2 separate regions of the Homo sapiens genome follow, and region 1 is linked to region 2. The links are contacts of gene promoters, found by promoter capture Hi-C in blood cells and fetal thymus (Javierre and others, 2016). All regions are on one chromosome and are shown on one strand. The core of a region is centred on a gene start or on the middle of the fragment in contact, and the rest is flanking DNA. Distances in the headings are between cores, read along the strand shown.

The links. The method cuts DNA at HindIII sites, captures the fragments that hold promoters and counts their contacts. A CHiCAGO score of 5 or more calls a contact.
Region 1: a contact is called between the fragment with the promoter of LINC02868 here and the fragment with the promoter of MAB21L3 in region 2, in 1 of 17 cell types (neutrophils). The highest score is 5.7, in neutrophils.

The regions. Positions count from the first base shown.
Region 1 is chr1:116,692,478-116,695,438 of GRCh38, forward strand. LINC02868 (long intergenic non-protein coding RNA 2868) reads left to right here and starts at 1,635. Exons shown (of 4, transcript NR_149353.1): 1 at 1,635-1,720; 2 at 2,282-2,378. The HindIII fragment of the contact is 15,118 bases long and covers 1-2,279 here.
Region 2 is chr1:116,109,917-116,112,842 of GRCh38, forward strand. It overlaps MAB21L3 (mab-21 like 3), which reads left to right and starts at 1,483. Exons shown (of 8, transcript NM_152367.3): 1 at 1,483-1,594; 2 at 1,713-1,894; 3 at 2,491-2,747. The coding sequence starts at 2,700. The HindIII fragment of the contact is 2,542 bases long and covers 598-2,926 here.

The DNA.
Region 1 (2,961 bases), core at 385-2,884, 580 kb after region 2:
TTCAATGAAGTTTGTTGGGTGTATGAATGAAGTAAAGAAAAAACTAATTCATTAATTCATGTTTACCTACAGTATATCTGGTGGATAAAAGCCGTGGCTCTATTCTACAGGCCAGTGGCAGCCACCAGGACTAAGGGACAGTGTATGCCATAGTCTCTATCGTTCAAATGCCTTTGGCTGTAAGTAACAAAAGATGCAACTCACAATGGCTTAATAATAGGAAAATTTATTATGCTCCATAACAAGAAATCCAGAGGTATGCAAGCTCCAGAGATGGTTAATTTAGTTCTTCAGTAATGTCATAGAAGACCCAGTTTCTTCCAGCTCGCACCCTAGCTATCTTCATCGGGTTGCACTTTTCCTCACGGTAACTCTCCTCAGAGTGAGAAGTGAGGCACAGCTGTACTAAGCAGATCTAATCCAGATAATATGACAGTGCCTGCTTCTCTTTTTACAAAGGGGAAAACCTCTTTTAGAACCCCCGGCCCTACCTAGTAGACTTCTGCTCATGGTTTTGGTCAGAACTAAGTCATGGGTCCTTTTGAAAAATCAGTTATTAGCACAGGGAAAGAGGGAATACTATGAACAGCTTAGGGCAAACACGTGGTCATGAATAGGACATGTTGCCAAGCAGACTGAAGTTATGTTAGGAAGGGAGAAGCGCAGGGATACAGTTATATTGGATAAGCAGCCACACAGCTTGCTGCTGTGTGCATTTATTCATTTATTCATTCAACAGATATTATCTATCATATACCCAGCATTGTGCTGGAGGTTGTGGACAGTAGTGAACATGAGAGACAAGATCCCTCCCCTGCCAGACCTTCCCCTCACCCCCTGCCCTTTGAGATGGAGAGGGTGTCCAGGCCTCCCCCCTTCACCCTCTGAGGTGGGGAGGCGTCCAGGGCCTCGCATCTCAGCATGGGACTGATAGGCTTGCCCTGACCTCTCGCAGGCATGAACACTGCTGTCTGGGCCGTGGCACACATGGGCATTTGTGTGGGCACCAAAGTCTTCCTCATCTGCGAGGTAAGGCTGAGGTGAGCTCTGTGTATGTGGGGAGCAGGAGCCTCCTGGGGTGCAGGCTGGGGTCTGGTCTGTGTGGGTCACCCTGGGAGCCTTCAGATGACCCTGGTGGAGCTAAGGTTCCAGACGTTCCCGTAGGGAAAGAGACGGTGGCCATGTAAACAAATAAACAAGATCCTTGTAGAGTGCCGTAACTATCATAAGGAAATCAGCAGAGCAGTGGACAGAGTGTGAACAGGGCCTGCACTGGAGGCGGACATGGAAGGTCCTCTGAGAAGGTAACATTTGATGAAGTAGGGAGCAACAAGTCCAGTGCAGATCAAGAGAGAGGACTCCAAGCAGAGCCAACAGCAAGTGCAAAGGCCCTGAGGCAGGAATGAGGTGGCTGTGTGGCTGAAGCAAAGTCTGTGCCTAATGACTAATCAAAAGTTGCTTCTGGCACCCAGCCTGGCTCCTGCCCCAAGCTGAAAACAGATCACCAGCAACAACTCTAGCTTCCCAAGCCTCTCCTGCCTAGACATGCAGCTCCACCCAGGTCAGAGGTACAGCTGCAGGGACCACAAAACAATGGGCTTAGCTCTGTGAAGACAGGAAAAGCCACCATGGTTTTGACAAAGAACCCAGGAATGGCGTTAAAGACTTCTTTGGGCAGTGTCCAATTTATGGAGCAATTTTGTTGGCCACATCTACGGAGGTATAAAAAAGACAGACATAAGGCAAGGATGGAACTACTTTGTTTATGTGTGTTGATATCCCTTCCCCATGCTCCTGTACGCCTCATAGCTCCTGCAGCGTGGTGGGTGATCCCAGTGGCTCCTATTTCACCTGGAGGCAGGACAGTGCTGCTGCCATGTGTGGCAGCTCTGCCAGGGGCTGAGGAGGCAGAGACTGTAATTCTCAGTTTGGTGTAATAATCCCTACCACTTTTCTGCGGCTGAGTTTCTGGGTGGGCATAAGTTCACTGGCAGCCTGGGTCCCCAATCTTATTCCCCTCCAGGCCTGGTAGCTCTTCTTTCTTGCAGTGAAAACCTCTCCGAGGGTTTTAATGATCCTGTCCAGTTCTGGCCTGCCACACCCATCACAGCCTGGTCAGTCCAGAGAGCGCTGAGTCCTCCTGCTTCCTCTGTCAGCAGTGACATCAGGCATCCTCCCTAGGCTTCCTCTGGAAACTCATCCCTTTTTGTCCCTCTTCCAGGTAGCCTTTTCCCCAGAATGTTGTTACTGGATTCATTTGATATTTTGTTTTCCTTTGAAGCTTTTGTGAAACTTGCGTAGGCTCATGGAGTATCCAAATGAGGCAACATCACCATCAGTCCTCCTTCCCTGGCTCACTGCCTCAGGAAACCAACCTGGTAGGTATTTCTGAGACTCCCAGTTTCTATGGAAGTCCCTGGGGATTTCTCACTCAAATCTGCAAAGTGCTTAGTCTTCCTGGACTTTTGGCTCTAGGCAGTTTGCTTGGAAGTATTGAAGGAGAGTAGCTCCCTGACCCCCATGTGATAATATTACAGGGCCTCAGAGCAGGGTTGTTTGGCATTCTAGGGGCTGGGAGATTGGTGAGACACCCCAGATGTCTGCTTGACTTCAGGGTGGCTGATTAGGGTGGGCTGATTACAGTAGAGTCCACCACCCTACACTCGGAACCGCAGCTTCCTCTGAATTGCAACTGTGCTGCTGCCTGGGACAGATTCCTTTCTTTTTAAGGTTGAAATTTCTCTTAAGGAGTCCATATTTGGGTTTTGTCCCTAACCACCCCACCTCCCCAATTCCCTGTCCTAAGTTCTGCAGGCACCAGGGACCGCCATTGTGAACACAGGGGGGTTCTTTCCTGGAGCTCCAGAATCCAGGTAGACATCTGGGAAGTGATGGGAAAAGAGGTCATTCCATCATTTGGACAAATCTAAATCTAAATTTAGCCCCAGCCTGCTATAGAAT
Region 2 (2,926 bases), core at 233-2,732:
GTGGCGGGCGCCTGTAGTCCTAGCTACTGGCGAGGCTGAGGCAGGAGAATGGCATGAACCTGGGAGGCGGAGCTTGCAGTGAGCCGAGATTGCGCCACTGCACTCCAGCCTGGGCGACAGAGCGAGACTCCGTCTCAAAAAAAAAAAAAAAGTCAGAGTTTGTAATCCTGCAAACTTTAACAAATTTGTATATTTAAGGTTGATTTTGATCAAGCTAACCTTCCTCCTTCTTGGAATTAAAATCTCAGACACTAAGTAAATCAGTAACAAACACTTCTGCTGGTAAACCAGGGCTAGCATTATCTCCCCGGGACTTCTCAGATTGGCAGCGTAGGGTTTTGCATGCCTTGTTAACCTGACTTGTAATAAGTTCTTAGTCTTCACAATGGAAACTGAGCCAAAGCAGGTTTACATTTCCGTACTTGCATTTGGTGTGAGTCATGAGAAAGGAGAATATTTATTTTCTGAGGAAGGAAGAGAACCTGAGCTAACTTTGAATTTCCTCAGTGGCCTAGCATACAAGTGCCTTAGGCTTACTGTAATTCAATCCTTTTGCGAATCCTATATCCAATTACCCAGATATCTACATCTAAAAAAAGCTTGTCTTCATCAAACTGTCAGACAGGAGCTGTCAGAGAGTCTATTTGTGGGACTGCCCTGTATTTCAGAGCATTTGCCCATAAGGAGCTAAATCATGGAGTAGGGAATTGGGTTGTGCCCCCACAACACACCTATTCCCTGGATATGACATCCTGGTAAAATCGGACTGTGTAGCTTCCCTGAGCACATGATTATTTCTTCGTTTCCTGATTGCTCAGTTGGCCCTGTTGGTTGCTTTCCCTGCTCACAGCCGGCAATTGTCGCTGGATCGTAGGGCAAGAGAATATTCCAGTTATAACATTTTGATCAGCTGCGGTACTGGAGCAATCAAGATAGGGCAGCCACAGGTGCAAAAATAATGAAAGTTTGTGCATCTGATGACAGGTGTCTGGGGTAACCCTCGAACATTAGGAAAGACCCCACCGGAGGAAAGGGACTCACAAGTTAATGATTACAGTGAAAGCAGAAGTAACAACAAAAATGAGCACATGAGAGAAACAGTGGGACTTTCGTAATGTTGAAAATGAGGTGGAGAGAGAATTCTAAATTGCAAGTTCAGAGAAAGAGGCTCTTGCTGTCTGTGAAAAACAAATAGTTTGGCACTACTATGATAAGAAAAGCCCAGGGAATAAGATTCTGAAAAATTTGGGAGCACTTGATATCAAAAGAAGGAGATTTAGAATTACATATAGAAACAAATGGAAAATCAAGGCTGTTTTGAGGGGTGCTATCAGAGGGTCATTGGAGAGGATGTAGCTTTACAATATTTATATCAGGCTGTGCATTGGCAGGAGTTCTGTAGAAGTTGGACTGAAAGCTGGAGGTAATGACGTGGGTGGGGCACAGAGCAGCTAGGGAGCTCTGATGCGGCTTTTGCTTGGGGCAGAGTATGGGAAGATATGCAAACGCTGAGGCCCCAAATAGTGCAGTGGCCTTTGTGGGCAGCACTTACAGGTGGGCTTGGAAACACTTGCCTTTGGAACATTGTTTAAAAGTAAGTAGTGCTCCCAGAAGGGCTGTAATTTCTTTAGATTATCTGATAGCAGACTCCGTGATGTTTACCAGCTTCAAGGAGATCAGACCATTGTGAAATTTTTTTTTTTTTTCTGTAGTAAAACTAGCCCCAGCCAGCCCAACTGGGAATTTACTGCCTGAGCTGTTTTCCAACATAAGTTTTGCTGGCAAAACCAGACGTGAGTGTTCCCTCGACTCTAAAGGGACCTGTTTACACTGACTTTATTTTTACTGCCAGCTTTCAAGTTGGAAGAGGGAAATTACGTTTAAAGGTCAGCAGGTGAGCAGAAGGATTCCTGACCAGCCATTCCTGTGGGTGTGTGCCCGTGTGCACTCTGTGTACGTGTGTGTGCCTGTGTATATGTGTGTGCCTGTGTGTACGTGTGTGCCTGTGTATATGTGTGTGCCTGTGTGTACGTGTGTGCATGCTTTTCTAAATGCCAACCGTTGTGCTCTGCGCTGGCTGACAAGACCTGATCACTTGTTTGCGGGCATAATGATGGGTGTCAGGCTGGTTGTTGGGCAGTTTCCTATTTGTTTATTGTAAAGAAGGTAAATCAATCCGTGGGATTTTCTGGCTTGGAGAGCAAGGGGTGTTTACTGTCAACAGGATAAGGACCAGGAGATATAAGATACTGAGTTCCACGGTGCATCTAGTGTTGGGACAGGAGCATAAAAGGTGGGGAGAAGCCAACTACAGGGTATTTCTGACTTGGATGGAACTTTTAAGTACTTGGGTGGGAAATACAATTTGGAAAATTGCTCTCTGGTGAAAGCACCAGTCAATGTAGCTAACTAAGGTATGATTAGGTTGGACTCAAATTCAATTTTATCAACTCTTCTTTTTAAATTCTTTTTTTTTTAATTTCCCAAAAGATGACAGATGGATTTTCACAATTTGGAAATAAAAACATGAGTGAAGGGTTCGGAAGGCAAGTCTCTGGTCCATTACACACTTCCAGAAAAACTTAGTACCCAGAGACTCACATTACTGGGAGTGCTATCTACTCACAAGTGTTGCACTCCATTGAGAAAAAAAAAAAAACCAGGAAGTTGCTGTTCTACTGAGGACTGACCAAGAAGCCATGAAATACCTTACTGTGGGAGACTTAGAAGATTGCCTACTGAATAAGGTAAGGACAGACCCGGTCTCTCCCATGAACCCCCTCCCCATTCACACTACTTCCAAACAAACCTTCGTCCAGAAAGGATCTCAGGCTCTTTCTAAAGACACATAAAATGCTCCTCAGAAAACAGACTGTCACCTATAACAATGTTTGGGGGCTTAACATATATCAGCCTTACTTCTCTT